Linked DNA regions of Homo sapiens: all the other regions are linked to region 4. The links are contacts of gene promoters, found by promoter capture Hi-C in blood cells and fetal thymus (Javierre and others, 2016). All regions are on one chromosome and are shown on one strand. The core of a region is centred on a gene start or on the middle of the fragment in contact, and the rest is flanking DNA. Distances in the headings are between cores, read along the strand shown.

The links. The method cuts DNA at HindIII sites, captures the fragments that hold promoters and counts their contacts. A CHiCAGO score of 5 or more calls a contact.
Region 1: a contact is called between a fragment that was not itself captured here and the fragment with the promoter of PLA2G7 in region 4, in 1 of 17 cell types (M2 macrophages). The highest score is 5.3, in M2 macrophages.
Region 2: a contact is called between a fragment that was not itself captured here and the fragment with the promoter of PLA2G7 in region 4, in 1 of 17 cell types (M2 macrophages). The highest score is 5.2, in M2 macrophages.
Region 3: a contact is called between a fragment that was not itself captured here and the fragment with the promoter of PLA2G7 in region 4, in 1 of 17 cell types (M0 macrophages). The highest score is 5.0, in M0 macrophages.

The regions. Positions count from the first base shown.
Region 1 is chr6:46,996,446-46,999,145 of GRCh38, forward strand. ADGRF1 (adhesion G protein-coupled receptor F1) reads right to left here. Exons shown (of 15, transcript NM_153840.4): 15 at 1,263-2,700. Among named protein-coding and RNA genes, the nearest start is that of ADGRF1, 45 kb to the right of the region's middle. The HindIII fragment of the contact is 324 bases long and covers 1,090-1,413 here.
Region 2 is chr6:47,043,999-47,046,698 of GRCh38, forward strand. No RefSeq gene overlaps it. Among named protein-coding and RNA genes, the nearest start is that of ADGRF1, 3.0 kb to the left of the region's middle. RefSeq lists an enhancer at 247-1,446. The HindIII fragment of the contact is 3,188 bases long and covers 1-2,700 here.
Region 3 is chr6:47,165,448-47,168,157 of GRCh38, forward strand. No RefSeq gene overlaps it. Among named protein-coding and RNA genes, the nearest start is that of ADGRF1, 120 kb to the left of the region's middle. The HindIII fragment of the contact is 1,151 bases long and covers 854-2,004 here.
Region 4 is chr6:46,734,112-46,736,811 of GRCh38, forward strand. PLA2G7 (phospholipase A2 group VII) reads right to left here and starts at 1,264. Exons shown (of 12, transcript NM_005084.4): 1 at 1,069-1,264. The HindIII fragment of the contact is 14,792 bases long and covers 1-2,567 here.

The DNA.
Region 1 (2,700 bases), core at 2-2,501, 260 kb after region 4:
AAGAAGTCCCTTTACTCCTCCTTTGTCTTCCACCATGATTGTGAGGCTTCCCCAGCCATGTGGAACTGTGGGCCCATTAAACCTTTTTTTAAAATAAATTACCCAGTCTTAGGTATGTGTTTATCAGCAGCATGAGAATGGACTCATACAAGACTCTTGCCTTAAAAATGTAAGACTTGCTGCCATTGTTATATGTCAACTTTCACTAAACCTTTTGTTTTCAGGATGGGAAAACCTCTCCCAACTGATTCTGCTGTCTCTCAGTCCCAATATCCCATCTTTTTCCACATCTCCATATAATCTATTAGTAGGATGAAGGAAAGGACATTTGCTTGGCTACTTGGGATTAGAGAGGTACCTGGGGGACCAGATGCTTCCTAAATTGAACTTGAACCAACCAAATCTACTATTCAGTCCCATATTCATCCAAATTCTTAAGGTACCTGGTGCTGCAAAGTCTTAAGTCTCTTGGGGGATTCTGCAGTGTAAAGTAGGTTGCTTCTTGTTTTTCCCCACCACTGGCTTAATATTTAACTTTCTCAGGTCTTCTAAGTCAGTTCACACCACCCCACCTGCTTTCCAAAGGTGTGTTGCTGTTATCTCCTCTCTTGTTCCCAATCTTTGGAATTTCATGTCTGTGACCTCCAGTGATCCCTCCCTCCTGGCATTCACACCTTTTGAAATGCCCTCCTCTCGATTGTGGCCAGGGCCTGTGACTTGGTTCTAACCTGTGAAATATGGCAAAAGTTATGGGTTGTCACTCTCCTAATTATCTTACATTAAACAAGACTCTCTCTTAAAAGCAGACTGGAGTTAGAGACTGTCCTTGCAGGCTTAATGTTGTAAGTGGCCAAGTTGGAAAAGCCCATGTGGTGAAAAAAATAGGGGTGGCCTCTAGGGTCTGAGGATGAACTCTAGCCAATAGTCAGCAAAAAGCCACCATTCTCATTCCCACAACCACAAGGGGACAAATTCTGCCAACAACCTGAATGAGTCAGAAGTGAATTCTTCCCCACCTGCACCTCCAGATGACATGACAGTCCATCCAGTACCTTGATGACAGCCTTGTGTAACCCTGAGCAAAGTACAAGCTTAGCTGTGCATGGAATCCACCCATGACCACTTTGAGATAATAAATGTGTGTTGCTTTAAGCTGCTGAGTTTGCAGCAATTTTATATGCAGCAATAAAAAACTATCATAACAGAAATGGAATAAACTATTATAATAGAAAACACAGCAATAGAAAATTATTACAATGCTATTCACTTTTTCATTATTTTATTGTTGTTTTAGTAGCATTTTGAGGTGAATGTATGCATAATCAGTGAATTAGACAAGCATGCACATACATGATATCTGATCAAACATTTTTTTGTCTCTCATCATCCTCATAAAATTTATTCAGTGGGAGAAGCTTTTTCTTCCATCAGATACATTCCAGTTGTATGCCAACATACTCAGGTAAGAGCAACATTTTGGTCATTTTAAATAGTTTGGTAATTATGACTCCCAGTCGCCTACAATAAGAAGAAACTACAATAATTTAGTACTAAATTTTTCTTCCCTCTCCAACTGAGTCTTGTGTTGAGTTGCCTACTTGCGCTAGCACATCTTCCCTTGCTGGTTGACATTTTTGCTAAGATTTCTCCCTCTCCTTCCACCCCACCTTGGACACGGAGGTTTCTGGCCTCCCTTTCCCCAAGGTCCCCAAAAAAAGAAATCTGTCTTATGAGATAGGGCTGCCTTCACATGGTGTCAGGGTTCTCTGGATAGTAATTGTGTGTAATAAGAGAGGGAGCATTCAAGAACTCCCATAGAAATTCTCATAGCCCTGACTTCTCATCTTTAGCTTGTGTAGATTTTTTTGTATTCCAGGTGGTCATTTGTGACTCCTTCCTCATCCCACAATCTGGCTTCACCTCCCACTTCTTGATGCTGGGTTCCCTCCACCTCTTTGGACAACCCTATCAGAGAGGACCTAAAAGAGCCCCATGCTGACCTTCACTCTTGCATGTCTCACTATGGTTCATGGGAAACACACACATCCATTGCCCTGACAAACACTAGACATACAGGCTATTCTCAACACAGAACTCATTCAGGGCTCTACTACCGGAGCTGTGGCCACAATTCTAGGCAAGAATCAGACTTCCATCAGCCATGCATCCTAATTGTTGTGGTTCTGAGAAATCTGAGCTATCTGAGCTATCTGAGAAATCTTCTCTCACTAAATTTGAGGTCAAGGAGCAGACATTCCTCCTTCTCTCACTTTTGTGGGTAGGTAGAGTGAGAAGGCTCATAGAGCAGTTTTCTGCAAAGAAGTCTTTCTCATAAAATTCTGTTGACTCTCATACATATTTGTGGGGTATAGAACCATCTAACTGATCCTCAGTCATTTCCTTTGAACCTCTCACTTTCATATTTCATGTGTGCTGCACCTTGGTGCCTTGTGGAAGTCTAACTTTGAATTTCTCTCAGGTATGCTTATTTAATCTACCACCACTAACTAGAAGTTCCCCCAGCTGTCTTTATTTGCATAGCATGAAGGCTTTCCATGTCAGGAGGCTAAGAGACACTCCCTAGGCCTCTCAAAACAGCAAGGATGAATCAAAGGCTCGGGTTCCTCTGGGCACTATGGTCACGGCTGAAACTCAGGTAGGTGAGCCAAATGTGATGGAAGTATGGAAGAGAAGTGTTGC
Region 2 (2,700 bases), core at 126-2,625, 310 kb after region 4:
TTTAAGATGAGAGATGCCATCTTCTCAGTTCAGTGCCACCCCTTTCCTATTGTCTATATTAAATTACAAGTGTTTAAAGTAATTCACTGACATCCTAGTAAGAATGTGTTTATAAAATGGAATTAATAATCTACTAATCACTAGAGCAAGAAAGTGGCCATGGAATTGGGTGGAAACAGTTGAAATGACCAACTAGTGTGGAGTTTAAGGTGGTGAGGGCTTGAAGCTGAGATGGAAGCTCTGTTATCCACCTTTGGCTCATTGTGTCACTGCAGCCCAACAACTTCCTAGGGCCAAGGTATGGCCCTCAGAACCAAAGGAAACCCTACATTGTCTCATTAGACCAAAAACACTTTAGCAGACACTAGTAGGTGAGGCAACCGGTAGACATCAATGATTCCATGAGCACATTGATTTTGGAGAAAATCTGAATCCAAACAGATGAATGCATTTAATAGTCTTTTAATTCCGTGTTTAATAGAAGGAAGTCATAGTACGTCCAATATTCAGATTGTTTCATAAATAAGGTGTGTTTTTGAAACTGATGACTCACCAAAAAGCAGTTTACTCACCGCTTCTAATTTCCTGCTAAGAATCTGTTAGTGCACGCAACACTAAATTCCTCAGTACTTCCTGGTGAGTTTGAGGAGCTCTCTGGTCCTTGCAAAGGACACAGTGCAAAAGGAAGCAGCATGGGTTTATGCACTGTGGCAGCATTCGGACATCTTATTACCTTAAGAGCTCAGGACAAAGCCAACCTTCTGAGTGCAGAGCTGTGGAGCTTTGTTGCCCCTCTAGTTTGATTGTAATGTTTCACAGGCATGAACAAGGTGTTCACTTGAGCATAAGAAGCCAGGTAAACAAATTTATTTTGGTTCATCTGGTCAACTTTACATTCCACAAATGCTGGGGGGAAAAAAAAGAAGAAGAAGAAAGGCCTGGGGCTGAGGAAGAGCTTCAAGCCTTCTAACTTCATCTGTTGGTGTTGGTTTAGTGAAGAGTCTGGTTGCTTGGTTTCCAAGCAAAAGAGCAGGGTCCCACAAATAAACAGCAATAAGCCTGAGTCCTGGGAGAAAGAAAATGCAAACAGAATCATGTTATTGAAACTAGTTATCTAAATTCATATGTCAACAAACTGTCCCTGAGTGAGTACTCGGTGTGAAACAATATCTAAATTAGACAGATCAGCAGGTGAACCAGAAAAGGACAGGAACCCAATTACAGAAGGACCCTGATGCCCATGTCCATACATCAGAAGTGCTGGACATTCTTTGAGTTTGGTCATAAAGAAGTTTTACCCCAGGGGCTGCAAACACAAACGGCAGACTTGAGTGATGTGATGATGCAGGAGTGTGAAAGACCCTGGACTGTTTCAGGTGGTTTTATTCCATAGTTGCAAAATGTTTGAAAGCACTATATATATGTATATGTATATATTGCAAGTATAATTTTTTTAACTGAAAGGAGGAGTAAAAAAGAGAAGAGTTGAGTATAAACTGTAAATTTCAGCGAGACGATTCTTCTGACTACTATGATAAAAGTCTTATCAAAGCTGATACAGGCTCTTCATACTCGGAACAAGGGCTTAAGATAAGGAGAGGTGGGTTTGAAATTATGAAGCTACCTAAGGACAAGCATTGGACACTGTGACTTATGAGAAATTGCTTTTATCAGAGGGGTAGGGTAGCATTGTGTTATAATTGAGACCTGGACAGCTAATTAGAGGAAGAGAAGAACTACCAAGCACTTAGTATCAGCCAACATTTTGTTGTTGTTGTTGAGACAGGGTCTCACTCTGTCGCCCAGGCTGGAATGCAGTGGCATTATCTCATCTCGCTGCAACCTCTGCTTCCCGGGCTCAAGCGATTCTCCAGCCTCAGTCTCCCAAGCAGTTTGGACCACAGGCGTGAGCCACCAATGTTAATTTTTGTATTTTTTGTAGAGGCGGGGTTTTGCCATGTTGTCCAGGCTGGTATTGAACTCCTGAGCTCAAAGCGATCCTCCTGCTTCAGCCTCCCAAAGTGTTGTAATTACAGGTGTAAGTCACAGTTCCTGGCTTAGCAAACTTTTTTTTAAATTTTTTGTTTTTAATTTGTATGGGCACATAGTAGGTATAAGTTTTTATGGGGTACATGAGATATTTTGATACAGGCATACAATGTGTAATCATCACCTCAAACCTTTGCGGTTATGCAGCATCATTTCTTTGTGTTACAAACATTCCAATTATACACTTTAAGGTATTTTTAAATGTTTAGTAAATTGTTATTGAATATAGTCACCCCATTGTGCTATCAAACACTAGATCTTATTTATTCTACCTAATGATATTTTTGTACCCATTAACCATCCCCACTCCCCCACTGCCCACTACTCTTCCCAGCCTCTGGAAATCATCATTCTTTTCTCTACTTCCATCAGTTTAATTGTTTTAGTTTTAGCTCCCACAAATCAGTGAGAACATGTGAAGTTTGTCTTTCTTTACCTGGCATATTTCACTAAATGTCCTCCAGCTCCATCCACGTTGTTGCAAATGACAAGATCTCATTCTTTTTTTTGTTGTTGGTTTCTTTCTTTTTTTTTTTTTGTGGTGGATCAGCCAACATTTACGGAGTACTTCCTATGTGCCAAGTACTGTTGTGATCATTTTTCATGTGTTTTTATACGTTCTGCAACCCTATTTTATAGACAATGGAGTGA
Region 3 (2,710 bases), core at 179-2,678, 430 kb after region 4:
GTTTTCATCACTCAATCAATGCATAACCTTGTATTATGTTTTTCTGTTTCAAACACTGTATTTAAAATATAATACTGATTCATTAACATTGAACTCAATCACCAACGGCACTATAATTCAGGCCTGGATAAAGCTTATCTGGCCAGGCACATTGTAATCCCAGCACTTTGGGAGGCCGAGGCGGGCAGATCACCAGGTCAGGAGATCAAGACCATCCTGGCTAACACGGTGAAACCCCGTCTCTACTAAAAATACAAAAAAAAAAAAAAATTAGCTGGGTGTGGTGGCAGATGCCTATAGTCCCAACTACTAGGGAGGCTGAGGCAGGAGAATGGTGTGAACCCAGGAGGTGGAACTTGCAGTGAGCCGAGATGGCACCACTGCACTCCAGCTTGGGTGACAGAGTGAAACTCCGTCTCAAAAAAAAAAGCTTATCTAACGTATGTCTTTTATGTCTTTTCTCCATAAGACACATTGCAGCCTTCCTGTTCTTTAGGAAATCAAACAGAACTTCAGCAGTATGCAGTGAGGCCATTTTAAACAGTGAAATCACCAACATAAAGCACAAATATTTGAAAACATGGCCTTAAATAGACCACAAAAAGGAAACTTGTTAACAGTAGAAGAACTGAAACAAGAAGGCACAGCATCACCCTGTTTGACCCCAGCTGGGAACACATCTATCAGATGACTCAAATGTTTTCTTGCTCTGTGCATGTCTGCAAATGACCATGAAAGCCACCTATACTGATTTTGGGGTTACAAAATCTGTCATATGAGGACCTAATGCCTAGAGTCATTGATGCCATGTTGTGTTTAAGAGGAGGCAATGAAGAAAATTGCAAAGATGCCAAGCTTGTATTCCGATATCAATGAGTTGTTTCATGTAATTTGGTACCAACTAGCTCCAGGCTTCATGTTAGATGAGATAATTAAATGTTCATTTATGGCTAAAGCAACTGCTGGTTGTGGTTTCTGTGACTTGCAACCCAAAGATATTCCTAATCAATGCCATTGGCTGACATCATCATGTTATTAGTAGAGTTGGGCTTGAATGTAAATCTATTTGGCTCCAAAGTCCCTCTTTCTTTTTTCCTTAATTTTTTATTATTTGAGAAAGGGTCTCACTCTGTTGCCCAGGCTGGAGTGCAGTGGCACAATCTTGGCTTACTGCAAATTCCATCCCCTGTCTCAAGAAACCCTCCCATCTCACCTTCCTGAGTAGCTGGGACTACAGGTACCCTTTTTTTTTTTTTAAGTAGAAACAAAATTTCACCATGTTTTCTAGGTTGGACTCAAACTCCTGAGCTCAAGCAATCCGCCCGCCTAGCTTCTCAAAGTGCTGAGATTATAGGCATGAGCCACCCCACTCAGCCACCCCAAAGTCCCTCTTTCTATTATATTGTGCTACCTTCCTTCCTCTTTAAACAGTCAGTGATCAATTCCCTTAAAATACTTTTAAGTTTTTTAAGGGGAGAGTCCAGGTCCTGTGTAATACCACCTTGTTTCTATAAGACCATTAAGATCATTTTTAATTTTTCTCTGGTCTTCCGGACTACTAAGCATATTACCTTATTTAGTACCATTATCAAATTTAGTTAATGCCATTTTTACTTTTCTCCACTTATTCATAATGATAGAGAACAGAATTGTCTCCAAGTCAACCTCAAAGAAATACCATTTGAGTTTGAACTTCCCTTCTCCCCATCCTTGCACCCCCAGCATGCCTCCCTCTGAGCTGTCTGTGCATCTGGCTAGCCCTAATACTAGTGATTCTTGCCACCCACTCTGCTGCAGCTGGCAAGGACCAGAGGGCCTGGATGCTCTCTTTTTGCTTCACGAACCTCTAAAGAGTACTCAGGCTGGAAACTGCTCCATCTATTCTACTAGTTGGCTTAATTTTACCAATCACCTAAAAAATCACATAGCAAGTTAAGAAGTTTTGCTGCTTATACAACCTGAATTCCTACAGTAAAAAGAATAAGGCTAGTACTAACTGCAGTAAGCTTTTAATATCCCATACAATATATCATCCTTCCTTAGGAAAGACTTGACTGCTAAGCAACATGATTATGATGTTATCACTTTCAGAAAAATTGGGGTAGAGAAGGCCCTCCAAAATGGTGTTTCATTCCAAATCAATAGGTTTCTTGATCCCAAACCACAGAAATGGACCTTGATAAACTTAAGCAAAAAAAGAAGTTCAGTAATAAGTCCTGGATAGCTCACAGAATAAAATATAGTATTGAACACTCAGAAGGATGGGAAGGGAACAGCTTTGGGAATCTTGGTAACTGGGACTAATCCATAGGCCCTGCTGGTCACTACCATTGGAATGACACAAAGCCACAAAGATCATTCATTCTAAGCAGATCACATGGAATAGGGAAAGAAGAGTTTCCCCAAGAAAAGTGGGACTCTTTTCAAAAGATAGAGGGAGGAATACTCAGTGCACTAGTGTGCGTGAGTGTGCACGTATGTGTGTTGTGAATGAAGAGAGGAAAAATCCATTGACTGAAACTCTTTATGTTGCAGGCCAAAAGGAATCACAGGAGCAGAATTTGCATCTAAATGAAGGCAACAAGGAGACCATAGAAAGGTGTTACTTCCCAGACTTTACCAGCTACTAGCTGTCATGAAACATCTAAAAAACTGTTTTGAAAGTTAGGAAGTTTTGTCATTTGGAGAGTGCTAGATGTCCTGGAGAATG
Region 4 (2,700 bases), core at 14-2,513:
ATGATGAGGAAGACAGTGTTCTCTGTTTTCTGATTTTGCTTAATTTTTTAAAAATGAGCCTCTCCCTTGACTTGGTGACACAGCTGTGATCTTATCTGGCCGGCAGGGGGATGCTCCAGGTAGGACAAAGAGTGCTTTGTTTTGTTCTTACAGCAGCCACGCATAACTGGGCTCCAAAAACGCAATACTCCTCAAAGGGAGAGTGAGAGAGAGGGAGAGAGGGAGAAGGGTGTGTGAGAGAGAGAGCGGAGGGAGAGAGAGAGAGGAGGCAGAGTGAGAGGTGTGTAGTGGTGTGTGTGTGTGTGAGAGAGAGAGAGAGAGAGAGAGAGAGAGAGAGAGAGAGAGAGAGAGAGAGAGAGAGAGAGAGAGAGAGAGAGAGACGGAGAGAGAGATTGTCCCTGTAGGAGATCTACAGATAAGAAAACTCCGGGGCGGGCGCGGTGGCTCATGCCTGTAATCCCAGCATTTTGGGAGGCGGAGGCGGGCGAATCACGAGGTCAGGAGATCGAGACCATTGTGGCGAACACAGCGAAACCCCGTCTCTACTAAAAATTCAAAAAAATTAGCCGAGCGTGATACGGCACGCCAGCAGTCCCAGCTACTCGGGAAGTTGAGGCAGGAGAATTGCTTGAACCCGGGAGACAGAGGTTGCAGTGAGTCGAGATCGCGCCTCTGCACTCCAGCCTGGCGACAAAATGAGACTCCGCCTCAAAAGAAAGAAAGAAGGAACGAAAGAAAGAGAGAGAGAGAGAAAAAAAAGAAAAGAAAACTCCATGTGTTCCCTGCCTGTCCTGATTCTCCCCCCAGCTCTGAGCTCTTAGGGTTGCTTCCTTTCGGGAAAAGGTTTGGAAGAACTGGTGTCTAATACCGTCATCCTCTCCCTCTCCCCGCAAGGATCCTAGCGCTGTTTCCGAGGGCTGCAGGGACTGTGAGCCCAGGACCGGCCAGCAGAGCGGGTGCGACTCAGCGAGCCCACCCCGGCCGGTCGCCGCTCCGGGGTCCCGACCTCCAGCGCGGCGACCGTGCCCTTCCTCCCACTCCCGCCTCGCCCCCGGGGCCCCTCCTCACTCAGGCGCGGCGCGGAGCTGCTCGCGGGAACTGGGGTCCCTGGGCGCGTTCCACCGCGCACCAACGCGACCCAAGCGCTCCAAACCCGACTGCTTCTCGCCGACAGCACTGCGAGCCTCCGACCAGCCGCTGTCCCCCTGGCTGCGGGCCGAGCAGCTCTGGCAGGCGGCGGGCGGGTGGGCTGCGCGCGGGCTGTGTCCTGGGTCCGCCTAGCGCGGCCTTGTGGCCCCGACCCTCTCCTCCCCTGGTGATGCTGGAGGAGGTACCGGGGAGGAGCGTGTGTGGCCCCGGCCTCTCACTAGCAGCGGCGGCTCCCGACGCTAGCCTGCTCGAGCGCACCCAGCACCCTCCCCAAGACCATGGCCCGCACCTGGACCCGCGGTTAACTTAGCCCGCCGCGGAGAGAGCCAGGCAATGCCTGGGTGGTGTCGTGCTCACCAGCTCCTTTCCGCAGACCTGATGCCGATCAGATTTACTCCCTGCTGAATTCACCCCCCAGTCAGGCCGGTTTTCCTTGTTTCACCGTGTTCTCTGAATACACTGAATTACTCCGAGCATCTATAGTTGGCAATGCCCTGCGCATTTTCCGCACTCCGATACACTTTACACTGAACACCAATTCGGAAGTTGTGTGGACCGTGCTCCAGATTGGAAGGCCTGCCACTGTGCTGGTGTCATTTCTCCCTGGAAATGACAATGAAGGACAATCAGGAATAGCACTTAGGTCTGAGGAGAAATGGAGCTAGAAGGAGCCGTTTCATAGCTCAGTGTAACACAGAGTTATTTGGGGTTTAACTGAAACGCCTTCCTTCATCTTCCAATGTTTTCTCTTCAATCCACTTTCTAATAAATTAAAAACACACTCATTTAAAACTTCAGCTAGAAACTTAGGGAAAGTAGTTTGAAATTTATGTGTGGTGTTATTAAAATTTTATATTTTTAAATCGTGTTTTGGTTTTTGGTGAGGTGCCAGAACTGGAGATGAAATTTTGCTTATTTTGATTTTGAGTATTCTGCAGTAAGATGGCCTGAATTTTAGCTTGTTTCTCCCACTTATGAGTGGTGTGACCTTGGGGAAGTTCATCATCTCTGCTTCTCGGTCTCCTCATCCATAAAATCAAGAAAATCAAAATCAGTCAGTCAGAGGCAGTTTGTGAGCACGAAATGCAAATACATGTGAAATGCTTGGGACAGAGCTTGGCCTATGGGAAACATTCATTCAATATGTGTTATCTAATATTGATAGCTTAATGAAGCAGTGACTCATTTAAACCTAACAATAGATTTTATTTTTAATTTAAATGGAACTCTATCCGCCTAATGACATTGTCTTGTACTTCCTGGACTAACCCCCTGTAAAACAAATGGCCCACAAATATCAATCTAAAAGGATACATTATGCCCTACCAAAGACATCTCTAACGTCTTCTTTTGACCTTAAGACAAAGGTGAAGACAAAGTTGAAGTTGAAGACCTAATCCCACACTAAAAAGGTGGTAAGCTTTGAGAACAGCTCCTGAAAACAAGTATGCAACATTTTATTCACTTCTCTCATTGCCAGCAACATGTCATCTCCCATTGTCATTAGGTCATATTCTCTGAGCAGCCCCACAGCAGTTGGCATTTGGCAGG